2 separate regions of the Homo sapiens genome follow, and region 2 is linked to region 1. Evidence: promoter capture Hi-C in 16 types of primary human blood cells and fetal thymus (Javierre and others, 2016). All regions are on one chromosome and are shown on one strand. Each heading gives the region's core, a stretch centred on a gene start or on the middle of the fragment in contact. The rest is flanking DNA. Distances are from core to core; before and after follow the strand shown.

Region 1 (5,915 bases), core at 1,539-4,038:
CTAGAAACTAGAGCTGTGGCTTTCTCTTCTTGGGCAAAGCCCCCATCTGTACAACAGGAGGGGTGGGGTGGTGTTTTCCTCAATATGAAAGGCATACCCGATGGCAGGTGAAATGATTTCCACGGTTCACACAGAGAGCATCAGATAATATTGATTCACAGAATGAAAAGATGATTGCCTTTTCACATCTCTCTCAAGTCTTCCAATAATGTCAGGGAAGGAGGTTTAGTCTGATGGTAATGTATCTTTAAAATCTCTCCAAAGCATGCTAATTTTCTTTTCTTTTCTTTTTAAACAAGAACAGGTTTTATAACTCAGGATCCTCAGTAGGCAGTGATAGCTAGCTAGAATTTTAGTATCACTGTTGTACTATTATTATTACTTCTCTTGTTAGTCTCATGGTTTTATTTTTTATTGCCTTTCTGAATATTTGCTATTTATGAAAAATGTTAGTGTTGCCATTGCTGTAATTCTCTTGTCCATTTCTTCATAGTTATAATATTGCTGCTGAAGCTCCTGCCATCACACCCAAATTGGAATTAAGGGGAAAGACAGGGTTCAGCCACTTTTGTCTCCTATTACCAGGAAAGCAAAATAATTTTACATACTTTGCATTGATCGAAACATGCTGCATGGCTACATGTAGCAGCAAAAGAGGCTGAAAATGTGGGTGTTTGGCTGGATACATTGGTACCCCAAACTAATCAGAATTCTACCATCAAGAAAAAGGCATACATCCAGTGCTTTGTAACAAAAGTGTTTGCCACAGGCTGGGAATCCTTTGAGTTTTCTCTTCAGTGTCTGCAAAGAGCAGGGATGGAAGTCAGAGATGTGGGATGGCTTAAGGGAATTTAGCAAAACACCTGTTTCTCTTTACCTTGTTTACCACCAAGACACTCCCTTCCCCATAGTGCAGTGGAACACTGACGAGCCATCATCACTCCTAAGAAACAATACAAAATGAAAAAAAACAGTATTGCCATACTCTTACAGTGGAGGCGAGGAAATCTTATGAGTTTGTCCCCACTGGCTATTATAGTTCAGAGTGCTAAGCTAAAGAACCCCTCACCTTTTCAATCTACTGTGTAGAAGCTATATTTACTTACCTGCACATACCTCCAAATATGTATCCTAGAAATCAGATTTGAAATCTTATAAATCCCAGAAGTAGGAAGTTCGTATTTCAAGAACTACTTTTCAAATTAGTGTTTTAATTCAACAAGCATTTAGTGAGTGCCCACAGTTCCCCAGGCACCTCCTTAAGTGCTGAGAATATAGGGGTGAACTGGACCCATAAAGCCCTGGAGTATATATCCTGGTGGGAGAGGCAGATAAAAGATCTGCAGAAAAACAGGAGTTCAGGAGGATTAAGAGCTGAAATCAGGAGGCAGACTTCTGGGCTTGAATACAAATTCTGCGGCTTCCTGGCTTTGTGGTTTTGGGCAAATTACCTGCCTCTCTATGCCTCAGTTTCTCCATCTGTAAGATAATAAGAATAATTATAGTACTTCATAGAGTTACACTGAGATTGCTTTTTTGACTCATAGTGATTAAACACAGCCATACTGAAGGGCCAGGAAGCTAAGATGTAGACAGTGTTTTAAAGGGTAAAAAATGGTGATGACAAATTACTCCCCACCTCATTTGGCAGCCGAGTGTATTACATGGCTTAATGCATGTAAAGTACTTAGAAATGTTGCTAGTATGGTCAGGCCCAGTGGCTCATGCCTGTAATCCCAGAACTTTGGGAGGCCAAGGCGGGCGGATCACGAGGTCAGGAGTTCAAGACCAGCCTGGCCAACATAGTGAAACCTCGTCTCTACTAAAAATACAAAAAATTAGCCGGGCGTGGTGGAGGGTGCCTGTAATTCTAGCTACTCGGGAGGCTGAGGCAGGAGAATCGCTTGAACCCGGGAGGCAGAGGTTGCAGCGAACCTGGATTGTGCCACCGCACTCCAGCCTGGTGACAGAGGGAGACTCTGTCTCAAAAAAAAAAAAAAAAAAAAAAGAAATGTTACTAGTATGTAGTAAGTTCTCAGTAAATGTTAGCTACTATACTCTTTCAAGTGCTGGGTTTTTACTTGATGTCATACAGTGTTATATAAGATCTCCAAAGATACTGAGGAGTCCTCAAGGCCAATTTTAACAAGCATGGTTGCCGCATTCTTGTGCTTATAGTTGAACATTTCTTCTTTCAGACACTTGCACAAAGGGATACTTCTAAGATGCATTTGCATTAGGTGGCAAACTTCATCCTGGGTATGAAAAACATTGAGATTTGGGAATAAAGCATAGTAAGACTGAGGTTGCAATTACTAAAGGAAAACCCCAACAGAGATAAGTGAAGTTCTGCAATATCATGCACCCTCCCCCAACCCGCTCTGTCTCCCCAGGCCCCCCTTCGTTAGAACACCCATGACTGGCTATATTATATCAGCATTTCCCATAATGTAAAAAGGGAAAATACAGACCTGGGCGTTCATGGAAAGTATTCTAACTCTCACAACCAGAATCCCTGTCTTTGAATTTTTTTTCTTGGTTTTTAGATCTTTAACTTTTCCTTCAGCATTTCAGTACTCAACTTTTTGAAAATCATCTTTTCTGAGGAATGATATTTCCTGGCACAGCATCATCTCTGTCAAGTGACTCAGTTTGATTTTTTTGTTTGTTAGTATAAAGTGGCCCCAACTTACAGAGAAAAAGTGGGCTCTTGGTATCAGTTTGATGTCAGGGTTTTTCCGTGTTTGAGAGGGAGCTTTAAATACCACTCGATTTGAAGGTGTCTGCAAGCGAGCTCCAGTCCGCTGTCAAGATGCTTCTGGCCATGGTCCTTACCTCTGCCCTGCTCCTGTGCTCCGTGGCAGGCCAGGGGTGTCCAACCTTGGCGGGGATCCTGGACATCAACTTCCTCATCAACAAGATGCAGGTAGGCTGCAGGGGGAGCCCATGGGAAAGACAGCTACTGACAAAGTGAAATATGTATGAGGATGAAAAAACTCGGGGCTGACTAAAGGTTCTTATCTCTCTATCTACTTTAGGAAGATCCAGCTTCCAAGTGCCACTGCAGTGCTAATGTGAGTGAATGCTCTTTAAGAACTTTCCAAATTAATTTTAATTTTCACATCTGGAATCTTCACTCTGAAATTTCCCTTGCAGGTGACCAGTTGTCTCTGTTTGGGCATTCCCTCTGTAAGTATAGTGAAATAACATAATGTTGACCTTGGATTTTTTTGGTTTGTTTTTAAGTAAAAATAAGTTGCTTTATTTAATATTTAATGTTATACATTGTTGCTTAATTTAATTGTTACAGATTAGTATTCCCTGTTAAAACCACATTGTTACAAATTATTCCCTTTTAAAACTACGATCTTGAAATCCTATATTATGAACATTTCTTTGTATTTAATTAACTTTATGCCTCTTGAGAAGTTTGAACACTTTTCAACATTAAAAAAAGAATCCTGAATATCTTTTTAGATAGGTGGCCATGTGCACAATTAAATAAAACTGGAACTAAGGATATAATAATTGCTGTAGCTCATATCATATTGCTTTCTAACTCATTTACTGATAACTCTAGAGTTGTGAAACAATGTAAATAAAATGACAACTCCTTATCTTTCATCTGTCATGAATGATCTATGCGCTATACCTCCCCCTCCCTGCCTCCTCCCTTCCTCCCCACCACCCTGTTGTCTGTCTAGCTGATTAGAGTGACTGTTGGTTTGAATGCTGCCCTCTGGGCAGGTAGAGGATCTGAGGTTGTGAGTGGAAGGAGGGCTTCCAGAGGGCCACTGCCCACTACGGCAGGAAGGATGGGTGGCAGGAAAGTTCTGATTCCTAATTCAAACTCCTGGTTAGGGTGAGGAGGAGGCACTTCTCCAAGGTGCAGTGCTTTATTCTTTCTCATGCAAGGCCTGGGAGAATCTGAAGAATCTGAGCTTCTTGCCCTGGCTAGGGTAAGACATCGCACCCATCGCGGTCCATCCATTAGATGAGAAGAGGATAGAGTGCCTTCTGGGCAGGAACCAGGCAGACAGCACAGCCCCTGTCCCTTGGAGTACCGTCCATGTTTTTAGCTGCTGCTGAAATACCAGCTGCATTCAATTGTCACATCCCATTAGCTGGTGTGAAAAGGCTTTTCCTCACTCTGCACTTTCAGACTTACAAGCCTTGAAGCCGGGAAGCACCCGTTGAAAAGAACATTCAGAGCCGACTATTTCAGGGCCCAGAGCCCTCATGTTTCCTGGATGTAACATACAGGAAGTCTCCTCCAGGGGATGTCACTGTGGAAAAATGGCATCCCCTTTAAATACGGGAGATCACTTCCTACATTGGCAAGGGACCTGTCTAAAAATAATGCAAGTTTGAGTAATGGTGATTAAATAAAAATCATCTCTATTATATTGCTCTTTGTGATATATTTCCAAAGCTGTCCTCAGAATATTTCTTTGAATAAATCCTTACTATTTACCAGGACAACTGCACCAGACCATGCTTCAGTGAGAGACTGTCTCAGATGACCAATACCACCATGCAAACAAGATACCCACTGATTTTCAGTCGGGTGAAAAAATCAGTTGAAGTACTAAAGAACAACAAGTGTCCAGTAAGTTTGTTTTCATATGTGATATGTTCCTGTTGGTGATTTCTATGTGAATGGTGATGCCAACCCTGTTTGAACACAAAAGGATGATAAAGTTGGAATTGGTAGTTCAAGGTTGATAAAAGACATCTAAGAATTTTAATCAGAAGTAATATAATTAAAGTGAGATCCACTGAAACAATAGAATTAAAGTGAGATAGATCATTGTTCCTGACGAGGCCATTTACTTCTCTCTACTATGGAATAATGAAAGAATCCTTTCTGAGTGTAATTAGAAGCTACAATCTAGAGAATCAGGGATGTAGCTCACATAATACTAAATTATCCTAGAGATTCAATGTACTAACTGAATGGATGTTGTTAACAGGGATTTTTTTTTCCTGTTGGTTAAGGAGGTTTTGTTTTGTTTTGGAGACAGAGTCTTGCTCTGTTGCCCAGGCTGGAGTGCAGTGGTGCCATCTGAGCTCACTGCAGCCTCTGCCTCCCGGGTTCAAGTGATTATCCTGCCTCAGCCTCCCGAGTAGCTGGCATTACAGGTGCGTGCCACCATGCCTGGCTAATTTTTGTATTTTTAATAGAGATGGGGTTTCACCATGTTGGCCAGGTTGCTCTCCAACTCCTGAACTCAAGTGATTTGCCCGCCTTGACCTCCCAAAGTGCTGGGATGACAGGTGTGAGCCACCATGCCTGGCCTGCATTAAGGAGGTATTTAAAGGGCAATGCACCCAGGTCAAGGTGGAAGCTTGCTACTCATCCTGAATGCCCATCCACACATTCTTTTCTTCAGCATATACCCTAGTCCCTGACAGCAGACTGGGATGGCAAGTTGGGTAGAGGTGACCTCCCTCTGTTTTTTGGGTATTAGCATCTCCACACAAGATCCTAGAAGGCTGAAAGCCCTGAGCTCAGCTGTTTAGCTGCATGCGTTTCTACCATCAATGGCATCTAGTTCTAAGTGCTTAATATATGCTGTCTCACTGAATAAATACATACCTTAGGGACAATTATTCAATTTATTACTCTCAGTGAGGTTAACTAATTTGCCTAAGGCTGCATATTTGATAAGTGGCAGAGCTGAGATTTGAACTCAGGCCTATATGACCTCAGAGCCCCACTCTTAGCCATTGTACTGTCAAATGACCTTGGAAAGACAACCTAAAAGGATAATGATACAATTTTAGGCCTCAAAGAGTCCCCAGAAAAGGCTTTCTCTAATGCAGAGATTTAGGGCCACTTAATAGGGGTGTGTGTGTGTGTGTGTGTGTGTGTGTGTGTGTGTGTGTGTGTGTAAAGACCCCTGAAATCCAAT
Region 2 (5,333 bases), core at 2,773-5,272, 210 kb before region 1:
GAGAATTCTAAGGATCCACATAGACACCCTGAGAGGCAAGTTTCTGTTGCTATGCAGCAAGCTGTGTGCTAGGTAAAGATGACACGGAGCTTCAGTTTCCTCCCTTCGATCATTATTTTACTTCCCTGTTCAAAAATACACACCAAACATCCTCTACACAAGCATTGCTCATGTAACTGGTGTACAACCATGGACAAGCAGATGCAGTCCCTATTCTCATACATCTCATATTCGAATGAAATTCTGGAAGGGAACAACATTCCCTCCTTGTTAGAGCATCCTAGTCATCCTCTAACAAGCCTGACAATGGCCATCAGCTCTCTGCTTACACTCTTCCTGTGACAGGGAACTCACTGCTGCTGTAGGAAATGGTTCATTCCTTTATATACTCAGTTTCTTAGGTAATTCCTTACAATGAGTCAAAAATGCCCCACTTCCCCTATAACCCATCCCCATTTTATTATCATTACTATTCTTTTTGAGATAGGGTGTTGCCCTGCCACCCAGGCTGGAGTGCAGTGGCACAATCATAACTCACTTGCAGCCTCAAACTCCTGGGCTCAAAAGATCCTCCTGCCTCAGCCGCCCAAATGACTGGGACTACAGGCACATACCACTGTGCCCAGCTAATTTTTACATTTTTTTGTAGACATGGGACCTTGCTTTGTTGCCCAGGTTGGTCATTCCCACTATTGACAAGGATACATATCCTCTGGAAACCCACAGAATAGGTCTAAGGTCTTCCATCATGAGTTAGCTTTTAAATATTTCAGGGTAGTTCACATGACTTGTATAAATCTTCTCACTGTTAAAAAGGCTCAGAGACAGTTCTGGGCCTCTCCCCAGAAACAACATTAAAATTGGAAGCAGATCTCAGATGAGGTGGGATTAAGGGAAGCAAAGACTTCTCACCCCATGCCACCTTTCCAACAGGTCCAGCTGACTTTACTGACTCAAAAGAGGCACACGTGCTGTTCCTCAGACTCAGGTTCTAGAGCAGTTGATAATGTCTTGCTAGGGAGGAGGACTCTGTCCTGGCCTGCTTATCTGCAAGAAATGATTCTATGGTCTGAATGTTTGTGTTCTTTGTAAATTCATATGTTGAAACCTAGCTCCCAGGGTAATGCGGAGGTAGGGCCTTTGGGAGTGAATAAGTCACGAGGGCAGAGCCCTCATGAAGGGGATTAGTGCCCTTATCAAAGAAGCCTGGGGCAGCTTGTTTGTCCTTCCATCACAGAAGGACACAGAAGATACCATCTGTGAGGCACCTCACCCGACACTGAATCTGCTGGCACATTGATCTTGAACTTGCCCAGCCTCTAGAACTGTGAGCAATAAATTCCTGTGTTTATAACTTACCCAGTCCAGGTTATTTTGTTACAGCAGCTGAATAGACTAAGACAGCAACACAGCATAAGAAGCTGTGAGCAGAGTCTGCTCAGCCATCTGGATCCCAGAATTGACCGTCCCCCAGTGTGTAATCCAATCTTTCTCATCCAGCTCACCCTGAATCAAAACTTGAAGAATTAGGGAGCCATAAAGGGAAACATGAAAGTTTTTTTGGGGCCTCTTGGAGGAAGGAAAGAATGGAAAATCATCTGTTCAGAGTTTCCCGCCTGGGTGATGGATGGAGCTATAAGGAAACCCTTCCCTGTTGGCTCAGACCCAGGTCTGCTCTCAAGGGGCAACCAGGCTTTGACCACTTCCTCTGCACCCCAGCTCCATGGGAAGAAAAAGAAGGGGGCTGCCCCTGCATTCAGGTGGCCAGACAACCACCCCTCTGCTCTGATGCTCAGAACTCCCCTATCAGTGAGCGACTCACAAGGTGCTGGTTGGTTGGTGTTTGCTGCCTTCAGTGGAAAACAGGCCCTTGAGCTGCCTATGTCCCAGGTTCTAGCAAAACTTGACCACTGCCTACTAAAGATCCCACAAAAGAGCCCAAATCAAACTGCCTCTCTGCATCTTTGAAACTGCGCTCTAACTCAGCTGTTGCACATATGCTGTTATAACCTCTGCTCTGGGATTGATTTATCCTCAGTTTTGCTTATGTATAGTTCCTTAATCATTCTGACTGTTTTAAAATTCAAAATTAATGTATCCTCATCATGAAGAAGTCAAGCCCTATAGAAATAAATAATGTAGAAAGTACAAGTTTCCTGTAACCTCCCTCCCCTCCCCCACCAAGATAACAACTGTTAATACTTCTCCATACATTCATTCAGATCTTGTTGCCATATGTATGCTATCAAAAAGGATTTTAGTGCATTTAATGCTTTGCAATCTACTTTTTCCACTTAATATATATTTGGAGCCTTTCCATGCCACTGTAGACTACATACTAAATCACGTCCATTTTATAAAAGCTCCTACAAAAGAGTTTGCACCACCTTGCTTTTTTTGTTGCTGTTATAAACCTGATGTAGCAAGCATCCTTGCATCTTTGTGCAGTTGGATGAGTACCTGGGTTGTTTCCAGTTGTCTCCTATTACTGGCATGCTGTAATAAACAGGCTTGTGCCTATGCCTCTGTGCATGCATGGGCATGTTTCTTCTGAAGAACTGAGGTTTTGAAGTAAAACCTGAGTTAAAGAGTAGGTAAATCTTTAGTTTTGAAAAATACTGCCAAATTGTGCTCTAAAAAGGTTGTGCCAGTTTTCACTCCTACTGGCAGCGTGTGAATTAAGCAGTTGTGCTTTAATATTGCCTTTGGCTTTTACTGAAGGACATGCCAAGACACAGCCCCGCAGACTCATTCCTGCACTTGCTGTGGGACTTATGCTCAGCACAGTATGGTTGACATCCCTTAGGACCTGCCAGAAAGTCCCACTTGAGGTTGCTTATGAACAATGGCATGATCTAAGGGGACTTTCTCAGAAGGACATTCTGAGATACTCTAAGAGACAAGCAGAGGCAGGAGAAGTGGGCAGATAGATACCCAGGAAGACCCTTGTGTGAAGTATCCTCTGTCTTATCCAAGGAGCATATTATTTTTTTCTTGGTGGCTGTTCCACATCTCTCATCCAACAAACACACACATGCACAATCACACTTCCCAGGTTCTTGTGCTCTGGATTCCATCAGTGGTTCAAATAAAAGGCTCCCTGGAGATTCCATGACACTGCTCCATGGCCCAGCAGGTGGACAAGACTGCAATGAGTTCACAGTGTAGTGTAATTTTCTGGTCTTGGAAAGACATGGCATCTCAATTGGTTAGATCTCAGCTGTGTTGTGAATCATTTTGTCTTTAAAACCATCTACTGCTCTGTCTACTCAGCCTAGCCCTCTTTGTATGATGCAGGACTACTGTGGGCAGAGTGGATATTTGACCCATGTGGCCAGAAATGATTAGAAAATGAAGCAAAGTGCATAGAAACCCAAACTGGGCATCTGACATAAGCTTGGCTTAGTCATTACAAGCTGAGGCTGTCCTGAAAATAATAACCCATAATCAATATTAGTTAACATTTATTCAGGGCTTACCATATGTGCTAAACATCAGTGTTTACCTTTCCAAATGCTTTGTTTGTATGTTTATACACACACACACACACACACACACACACACACACACACACTATTTTATCAAATTCCCTCATCAATCTCGTGAGGTATGCATTAGTTTCTGAGTCTTATCTGAGTTAACCAGGTAGTCTGACCCCTCAGTTCACTCTGTTGGGATTTTCTATTTTCACAACACATCTCTTATTTTACAGAGCATTCCAAATATGTCATCTCATTTGATGTTCAGATAAAGAAATGCTGGGAGGCTGGGAGGACAGGTATTGTGACAGGTGGGGAAACTAAGGTATGGTGGCATGCCTTGCCTCAGGCCCCACCCCACAGGAGTGATAGAGCTGGAATGTGAAGCAAGTCCTTTGACTTTGGGGCTTCTCACATGACTCTCCAGTTGGGTGTCCATCGTGGGTGTGTGTCCTTAGTCTCAGGTAAGTCCTTAAAGCACAGTTTTCTCAAGACTTGAAGGTCTGGGTGCTGGGGCCATCACAGGTGGCCCCCAGCCAGGTGACAGGACCTGTAGACAGGCTCAGTCCTTGCTGGTGGCTTGGTATTCCTCGGGCAATTATTTTCAGAAGCAAATTGACATTTTGGTTGTCTAGAAAGCCTGGCTCTCACCTGCTGCCCAGGAATTGAACTGCTCATTGGCCCATGGGTTTATGAATGCCAGCTGCTTTTTCTCATTACCGCTTTCAATTAACTCATTGTTCTGAGCCCGAAGGTAACAGACTCCCCTTGGGATTCATTTGCATTAAGTCTGGGCCCTGGTTTCTTTTCCTTTTTTTTTCCTTCCTTTTTTTTAGAATAAAAATTCAAGTGTTGCGAAGTAAACAATTAGAAACTTCAGGGCTGGAGCCCCTGGTTGTGGGCCTGGGACAGAAAAGGCAAATGTTTTCCACCATGACCCTGCCAGGATGAGGTGCCCATGCTACCCAGGAGAATTGAACACATCCTTTAAGCATCAGATTGGTCTTTCTTGTTGGCGGCCGAGGCTGCAGGACAAAGATTCAGGTGTGTAGGAAGGCAAGATGTCATAAGACTTGCTGAAGAGGGCACCCTCCTGTTCTGTTGGGACCCACTGCTTAAGGAACATGTGTATAGTCTCCCATTACAGAAGGAAGAGAACTAAAGCTTATTGAACTTCTACTATATGCTAAGTGTGATAGCCCTCATTTCACATCACCCCCAGGGCAATTGTATCCCTAAGAACTATTATTCCCCCATGCCTTTTTTCTTTTTTGTAGAGACAGGGCCTCACTCTGTCACCCAGGCTGGAGTGCAGTGGTATGATCATAACTCACTGTAACCTCAAACTCCTGGGCTCAAGTGATCCTCCCACCTCAGCCTCCTGAGTATCTGTGATTACAGGCACATCCCACCACACCTGGTTAATTTAAAAAAAATTATTTTTGTAGAAATGGGGTCTCACTCTGTTGCCCAGGCTGGTCTCAAACTCCTAGGCTCAAGTGATCCTCGCACCTCAGCCTCTCAAAGTATTGGGCTTACAGGACTGAGCTACTGTACCTGGCCCTATTATTCTCACTTCATAGGTGAGGAAACTGGGGCACAGAGAGGGGCAGAAACTTGCCCCAAGCTACACATCTGGGATTAGTGGAATGATGATTTACACCAGTGAAGACAGAGGTAAGCAGGGAAAGTCAGCCCGGGCAAGGAAGGGGATAAGGTAATACAGGACTTTGTGCGATTGAGTGATAATTCCTTAAAATTTCAAGGCTTCCACTGACTCCCCACCTGTTTTTCATTCATTTCTTTGAGAAACACTTCCTCTGTACTGCCTATAGATGGTCAACAAGTGTTGAC

What was found. The method cuts DNA at HindIII sites, captures the fragments that hold promoters and counts their contacts. A CHiCAGO score of 5 or more calls a contact.
Region 2: a contact is called between a fragment that was not itself captured here and the fragment with the promoter of IL9 in region 1, in 4 of 17 cell types (M1 macrophages, M0 macrophages, M2 macrophages and 1 more). The highest score is 8.5, in M1 macrophages.

The regions. Positions count from the first base shown.
Region 1 is chr5:135,892,714-135,898,628 of GRCh38, reverse strand. It overlaps IL9 (interleukin 9), which reads left to right and starts at 2,788. Exons shown (of 5, transcript NM_000590.2): 1 at 2,788-2,926; 2 at 3,039-3,074; 3 at 3,157-3,189; 4 at 4,478-4,609. The coding sequence starts at 2,813. It overlaps LOC124901074 (a long non-coding RNA gene), which reads right to left. Exons shown (of 3, transcript XR_007058947.1): 3 at 2,481-2,931. The HindIII fragment of the contact is 6,689 bases long and covers 1-5,350 here.
Region 2 is chr5:136,105,719-136,111,051 of GRCh38, reverse strand. No RefSeq gene overlaps it. Among named protein-coding and RNA genes, the nearest start is that of SMAD5, 24 kb to the left of the region's middle. The HindIII fragment of the contact is 1,247 bases long and covers 3,399-4,645 here.